Linked DNA regions of Homo sapiens: region 2 is linked to region 1. The links are contacts of gene promoters, found by promoter capture Hi-C in blood cells and fetal thymus (Javierre and others, 2016). All regions are on one chromosome and are shown on one strand. Each heading gives the region's core, a stretch centred on a gene start or on the middle of the fragment in contact. The rest is flanking DNA. Distances are from core to core; before and after follow the strand shown. Region 1 overlaps ATP11B (ATPase phospholipid transporting 11B (putative)). Region 2 holds the start of TRA2B (transformer 2 beta homolog).

Evidence for each region. Contacts are between HindIII fragments. The CHiCAGO score rates a contact against its expected background, and 5 or more counts as called.
Region 2: the fragment with the promoter of TRA2B here is called in contact with a fragment that was not itself captured in region 1 in 1 of 17 cell types (naive CD4 T cells); the score reaches 5.2 in naive CD4 T cells.

The regions. Positions count from the first base shown.
Region 1 is chr3:182,793,639-182,797,595 of GRCh38, forward strand. ATP11B (ATPase phospholipid transporting 11B (putative)) reads left to right here. Exons shown (of 30, transcript NM_014616.3): 1 at 1-148. The coding sequence starts at 122. Among named protein-coding and RNA genes, the nearest start is that of ATP11B, 2.1 kb to the left of the region's middle. RefSeq lists a silencer at 1-450. The HindIII fragment of the contact is 794 bases long and covers 1,718-2,511 here.
Region 2 is chr3:185,936,640-185,940,596 of GRCh38, forward strand. TRA2B (transformer 2 beta homolog) reads right to left here and starts at 1,375. Exons shown (of 9, transcript NM_004593.3): 1 at 1,186-1,375. The coding sequence starts at 1,221. RefSeq lists enhancers at 597-806, 709-1,436, 847-1,306. The HindIII fragment of the contact is 7,639 bases long and covers 1-3,957 here.

The DNA of each region.
Region 1 (3,957 bases), core at 865-3,364:
GCGGCGGTAAGCGGAACTTCGGCCCGAGGGGCTCGCCCGCTCCCGCCTCTGTCTTGTCGGCCTCCACCTGCAGCCCCGCGGCCCCCGCGCCCCGCGGGACCCGGACGGCGACGACGGGGGAATGTGGCGCTGGATCCGGCAGCAGCTGGTAGGTGCCCCCGCCCCTCCACCTCCATTCGTCCGCCCCCGCGGGGCCTCTCGGCCCGGGGTGGCGGGGAAAGGCCGGCGGCGCGGAGCCGGGAGGCCAGGGCGTGGGCGCCCGGCTAGGCCGCAGCGGAGACGGGCGCGGGGCCCAGAGCCGGAGAAGCCCCGTGCGGCTCCCGGGCTCGTCTCGCCTCCAAGCCCGGGCCGCCGAGGCTGGCGCCGAGCGGCCGGAGGCGGCCGCTTCTAGCCGGCGCTTCTCCGTTACTTCTTCCCCCTTGCCGCTCCGGGGCTGCTGTGGCCAGAGGCGGGAGTCCCGAGCGGGGTGGCGGTGCCCCCAGAGGAAACAGGGCGAGGGAGCTGAGCGAGAGTAGGTCTTGGGGAGATGAGAGAGGCGTGCTCTTCCTGCCTCGAACAATTTGGGACGTGTTTGGGTGAAGGGGAAGCGAAGAACCTGTCTTCTGCCCCCACTCGTCACGGACTTCTGGAAGCGTGTCACGATCCAGAGCTGTGTTGATTCCCGAGGAGGAGGCTGTCGTAGGTGTCTAGCCCCCTCAGCGAGAGACGTTTCTCCCCAGGACCTGGAAAGGGGAAAGACTGTGCCAGCTGCCGGTCTAGCTTCGGAAACGATACGTATTGTACGATAGTTACGAACGATACGTACTGTCGTTTCCTTCCTACCTCGTCCTCACCCCACCCCGAGTGAAACTTTTCGAGTGTGAACCTTACTTTTTTCCCGTTCTCCTCAAGGCAGTTTGAACGACACAGGTTTGGAAGGAATAGTTAACTCTCCAGTATTATTGGAACATCTGGACACCACCAACAAAAAATCTTAGAAAAGGGTCATTTAAGGCCTATAAAAAGTGCCACCTTTCCCAGAATTAATTCAGAGAGAAAAATCTTATCTGCCTCCTGGCAGCTACAGCGCAGAAAGTACAGCATTAAGGCAGCTGTGACAATTAGGACAGAAATTGCCCCTGGCTGAAGAAGCCTAACCTTATCTGTGTGATGAGGCCGGTTACTATTTAATTTCTAAATCGCATTAACTTAATGCTTCTACAAGTTGGCGTTTTCATTTACTAATTCTAAAGGCAGTGGTAAAATTTAGTGAAACAGGAACTATTTTTGTGGGACGAAAGCACTGATAACTCTTTTTCCCTTCTGCTCTAGAAAAGCATTTTAACGTTAAGACCAAGAAGTGTGGTGTTTCAGAGCCAGCCTTCTGTTACTTCGTTTTGCAGCGGGCATCATTCTCAAAAAAAAAAAAAAATTATAAATAAGAACTGCCTACCACTCCCTCCTACAAATGTTGGGTCTCTGTTTTTAGCATTGTAAATTCAGATATCCCAGATATATGCTTTATTAGGAAACCAAGCTAATGATGTCATTATAATACCATCTTGTAATACTTTGGCTTTGTTGCAGTAAGCTGTAGCACAGTAATTTTACTCAGAAAGTTAATTATTACAGATTTGATCTTATGCTTTTGATTTGCCAAATCTTCTTGTATAGAGGGCTGATTTACCTGATGGTGTTTTTGTGTGGTAGGAAGATCATTTTAAAGTGGTTCTCTTGAAGCTTTTTTAAAAATGTATTGAGACATCCTTTCTCACTGTTAGGTATTTTTTAGCCAGAATAAAATCCTGGTTGTATAACCATGCTCATCTTCAAGACAGAAAACCTGGTAATGTTTTTTAAAATGGCTTCAAATGAACCCAGCTAAAAGGAAGGGCCGGAAGTTGTGTGTGGTTATTTTACAAGGCAGCCGTCTTAACAGGGATGGTTAACGAGTTGAACAAGTTCCTGTGCATAAAAAATGCTATCTCTGACATTTAGTTGCTCACCTCACTGGTTTTAAGTTATCAGATCCTCTAAGTATGTAATCATACTTGGGCCAATGTAGGACTTTGTGTCTCTGGTTAAGTTTGTATGATCACATAAATTAAACATCAAGGACCCTGGATACAGAGTAATGAAAGTATATTTTGCTATCCCAGTCATAGACAGCTATTCTGATTACTGCACCAGAAATTATTCAACTCAGGTAAAAGCTAGTTTAGATTATACTTCCAGTGGCTTAATGGATTGAATCACCACGACTTTCAGCAATGGGTTTATTTTAAAATGCAGATAACTAGGACAAATTTGGGGAAATTGACAAGCAAATCCTAAGGACAGGTTGGAGTTATAAGCATATTTAATTCGTTATATGAATCCCGATTTTCAACTAATGTCTCACAAAAAAGTCCTTTTATTACAGAAACAATGCCTATGTTCTAGTAATTTCTTTTTAATTAAAAAAAAGTGTGACTCCTTATGACAAAATATTTTCACTACTTGAGAAGATGGAAAAATCAGAAAGTTGACAGAAGCTTGATCTTTTCTATTGGGAAAGTAGGCTGAAAATAAAAAGATTGGAATATCCTTTTTTGTTTTTCTTTTTGGCACACAATGTTAAAGTTACTTGACACTAAGAAAATTCTCTTATGGTGTCTTTGTGGTACAGTTAGTATTATTCAAAGTATACTCATTTTCAGTACCATATTTTATGTATTAACTCATTAGAGATGACAATACCTTGATTATAATTATGGAAATGCCATTAGCTACTCACTGTATTCTAATATTTAGACCTGTACGGTAGCCATTAGCCACAAGTGGCCATTAAAATTAAAATTGGAGCCATATGTGGGTATTAAAATTAAAATTTGAATTCATGTGTCTATTGGCTGCCATTGGCTGCCATATTGGACAGTTCATATTTTCATTATCACAGAAAATTCTATTGGACAGCACCAATTTAGACTTTTAAATGAAAGTCTGTGTCAGTACATATTTGAATGTAATACTACATTTTTAAAGCACTTGCTGTGTGCTGGTATTAACAGATGCTGAATACCAGGGATACAAATGTTGGTCAGGGTCACACATACTCTACATAAGTAGACATTGGATACATGTTGCTGAACAAATAATTAATAGATGAGGAAAGAAAGAATGAATCTGTAGTGTTGTTTCTGTGTTTAGAGACAAAAATGACCAAATTTAAGATTGACTAGCCCAGAAAAAAGTTAGAAAATGAGTAATTACACAAAAACAGTATTACTAGGATAACTGTTTCTTAAACTGTTCCATAAATGTAATCCCTTTAGATTGTATTGGCGATGGTGGTAGGAGGCTGCTAAGATTGTCTTCTGATTAACTGAGAAAAATGAGAAGGTCTTAATCTGAACTCCCTCAACTTTCTGTTCTTCCTCACACTCACCGAACTTGCTTATATTTTATACTGGTACTTAATTCTTCCCTTCACAGTCACAAGGAAGATGCAACCCTCTTTTCCAAGATAACAATTCCACTTAAGCTTTTGATCCTTTTCTTTCATTCTGCTGTCCATACTCCATCAGTTATCATTAGTATGTTTCTTTTCTTTCTCTTTACTTTTTCTCTTAACTTGTGAACATGTTCAAGCCTCTCTGCTACTTTTTCCTGTACCTGTAACTGGCAAATTCTTTTTAATTTTCTGAAAAACAGATCTATAAAACTGTGCTGGCTGATGTATTTGGAATGTGGCTAGTTTGAGTAGAGTTATTCTTACGTATAAAATACACATTGGATTTCAAAAACAGTATTAAAAAATGTAAAACCTGGCCGGGCAAGGTGGCTCATTCCTGTAATCCCAGTACTTTGGGAGGCCGAGACAGGCAGATCACCTGAGGTCAGGAGTTCGAGACCAGCCTGGCCAACATGGTGAAACCTCATCTCTACTAAAAATCCGAAAATTTGCCTGGCGTGGTGATGGGCACCTGTAATCCCAGC
Region 2 (3,957 bases), core at 125-2,624, 3.1 Mb after region 1:
AGCTTTACCAACAAGGGGAAACTTAGGTAACAAATTGTTTTTTTTTTTTAAAAAAGCACAAATTATTCCCACAGCCTCAAAAATCAATTTCTATGGTGCTTTTCTATCACCCTTCTAACAGATTCCTCTTAATTCTAGCAAGCCTCGTATGTTCGCATCATTCAATGCTTTCCGAATCCAATACCCAGAGCCCCACAGACCAGCTACGTATGCTGTTTAAACCCTAGAACTGTCTTGTTCCCGCAATTCAATCAACCCTCACTGAACACCTTTAAGAGGTGGAAACTTAAGGGAAAGAAAACTGTAGCCAACACACGCTGTGGTTCTAAGTATTAGAACGCCTCAAAACAAAGGAAATAACGGCGCCGTAAATGGTTGCCCGCCAATTTCTCCTTCACAATCCCGTGGAAATGCGATGTCCACAAAATCATCTTAACGACTTTGTGGTCTGTCCTAATAGAATACTGATACAGATTTTTGCCTGGGAAGCCCTTTCGGCATCAGAGAAAAGCGCTTCATTTAGGCCAAACACAAAGCCCTCACGCAATCCCCTCCACCTAACGGGCCCAGAACTTAGTCGGCCTTGGATTAGTTTCCATCTTAAGAGGCCCCAAAGACATCCCAGACTCCGTCCTTTCCGTGGAGGCAAAGACGGTCCTTCGTTAACCTAAACACCGGCCCAAAGACCCAAAAGAACGTCGTCTGTCCCCTTGCACCCCACCACGCGGCCTTACGAAGCGCGGCCCGCTGCGGGTCGGGTCCGCGTTGCCGCGCGGCTTCTCCGCCATTTTGTGCCTCTGGCAGCTCGCCCAGCCCGCCAGCCCAAGATGGCTGCGGCGGACCTTCGCAGGAGAGCAACGCCGAAATAAGATATCGCTCCCCTCCCCCAACACCGCGGGGACGCAGCGGCCATTTTCATCTTCCCCCTCTTATAACGGGAAAAACGGCCGTCTCGGGCAGAAGCCACATAAACCCGCCGGGGGCCTCCCTCCTTCACGACCAAAGGCACTAAGGCACTATCCACAAAGGCTTTTTTTGGTTAAATGCTGTCTCCCTTGCCTGCCCTCCCGGCTTCAGACTTCGGAGCCTAAAACGCCCCTGCCTCCTGGCCCGAGGCCGACGGGCCTAGAAAAAGATGCAAGGAGCTAGGACCACACAGCCACCCCCTACCGCAGCTCTACGTACCCGCTCGCCGTAGTTCTGCTCGCCGCTGTCGCTCATGACTCCTGGCTGCTGTCGCCGGTCGATGTGCTTCAATCGAAGCTGCCAACCTCTTGCACCTTCCTTAAGGAGGCTCCGCCGCAGCCCCGCACGACGCGCCGGTCGCCCAGCCGCTCAGAGCCGAAATGCTCCGCACCGCCTCCGCACGGGCTCTAACTCTACCGGATGTGACGCGGCGCTCCTTAGCCAGGCTCCTCCCCTCCCAGAAACGCGCGCTTTCTTGGCCTCGCCCCTCCTCGCTCTGCCTTTCCTCTCCAGCTGCAGCGCGTCCCGCACAGGAAGTGACGTGACCCCGCCCCTCGCAGGGCCCCACCCCCATTCACGAGCCTCTATGAGGCGGGAAAGCTAGCGTGTCGTTTGGCTGCTGTAGTGGGCGCCACGGAGCCACAGTGATGTCACCAGCCACTTCTGAATCCCTTCTAGAACTTTCCAGGGAACCTGCCGAGTGTGCAGGGAGGAAGGAGATGCTGTTTCCCCCAATCTCAATTCCTTTCTCCGCCTTATTAGTTTCTTGTTTTGTGTCTTTCCTTTGTTAGAGAAGTGAATGTTCGTACATTGGGTTCTTACTTAATTTTGTCTTACTTGTAGATATTTCCTTCCTGAATACGTCTTCATTTAAAAAAGGTCAGATCGGGCTGGGCGCGCTGGCTCACGCTGTAATCCTAGCACTTTGGGAGGCCGAGACGGGTGGATCACGAGGTCAGGAGATCGAAACCATTCTGGCTAACCCAGTGAAACTCCGTCTCTACTAAAAATACAAAAAAATTAGCCAGGCGCGGTGGCGGGCGCCTGTAGTCCCAGCTACTTGGGAGGCTGAGGCAGGAGAATGGCGTGAACCCAGGAGGCGGAGCTTGCAGTGAGCCGAGATCGCGCCACTGCACTCCAGCCTGGGCAATAGAGCGAGATTCCGTCTCAAAAAAAAAAAAAAAAAAAAAAAAAGGTCAGATCGGCTGGGTGCGGTGGCTCACGCCTGTAATCCCAGCACTTTGAGAGGCCGAGGCAGGCGGATCACATGGTCAGGAGTTCGAGACCAGCCTGGCCAACATGGTGAAACCCAGTCTTTACTAAAAATACAAAAAAATTAGCCGGGAGTGGTGATGCATGCCTGTAATCCCAGCCACTCGGGAGGCTGAGGCAGGAGAATCGCTTGAACCCGGGAGGCGGAGGTTGCAGTGAGCCGAGATCGGACCGCTGCACTCCAGCCTGGGCGACAGAGCGAGACTCTGTCTAAAAAATAAATAAATAAAAATAAAAAAGGTCGGACCTTAATACACAGGAATCAGACACAATCTCTATTCTAAAGTTACAAAGTAATGTGCTAGAACCGTTAAACACAATTAGAAAAAATGATTGTAAGTGCCAGAGGCATGTATAACTACAGGGGTGTCACAAGGAGGGAAGATTAATTCTGCCATTTCGTAAGAGAATATAGTTGGATTATAGTGAGAAGAGCCCAAGACCAAGTCGGATACTTTCTTTCTTCTTTTTTTTGAGACGGAGTCTTGCTTTGTCGCTCAGACTGGAGTGCAACGGCGCGATCTCGGCTCACTGCAACGTCTGCCTCCCGGGTTCAAGTGATTCTCCGCCTCAGCCTCCGTAGCAGCTGGAATTACAGGCGCCTGCCAACACGCCAGGCTAATTTTTTGTATTTTTTATAGAGACGGAGTTTTGGCATATTGGCCAGGCTGGTCTCCTGGGCTCAAGCGATCCTCCCACCTCGGCCTCCCAAAGTGTTGGGATTACAGGCGTGAGCCACTTCCCCCAACCCCCAAGTCGGATACTTAATTCCTCTACACTTCAGTCTCCCCATCCATTGAAAAGGTGGTACCTGGCTGATGAGGCACTTTGATACTGGTAAAGGGTCATTTGATTTTTTTTTTTTTTTTTTGAGACAGGGTCTCTCTGGCTCTGTCGTGCAGGCTGGAGTGCGGTGGCTCATTGCACCTCCCAGTCTCAAGTGTTCCTCCTGCCTCAGCCCCATATCCCCAACTCCTGATTTTTTTTAACAGCTTTATTGAGATACGACTCACCTACTATGCAGTTCCCTTATTTAAAGTGTACAGTTCAAATGGCTTTTATTCACAGAATTGTGCAACCATCACCACAATTTTAGAGTAGTCTCATCACATTAAGAAAAGAAACACTCATTAATAGTCATTTTGCATCCCTCCTCCTCTCCACTCCTCACAACCCTCCCAGTCCTAGGCAATCACAAATCTTTCTTTCTCAATAGATTAACCTATTCAGGACATTTTATATGAATGGAATCATATGGTATGTATCTTTTGTAACTGGCTTCCTTGGCGTACGTTTTCACGGTTCATCCATGTTGTAGCATGTACTACTATTTCATTCTTTTTCATTGTCAAGTTATATTCAGTTGTATGGATATATGACATTTTATTTATCCATTCATCATTTAATAGACATTTGGATAGTTTCCATTTTTTAACTTATGAATAATCCTGCTGTGAACATTCATGTACAAATTTTTGTACGAGCACATGTTTTTATCTCTCTTAGGTATACACCTAGGAATGGAATTGCTGGATTGTATAGTAACCCTACGGTTAATTTGGGGGGAAACTGCCAAACAGTTTTCCACAGTGGCTGCATTCATTTTACATTTCACACTGCCACCAGCAGTGTATGTGGCTTCCAATTTCTCCACATCCTCACCAATACTTGTTATATTGTATTAAAAAAAATTGACCAGGCGTGGTGGCTTATGCCTGT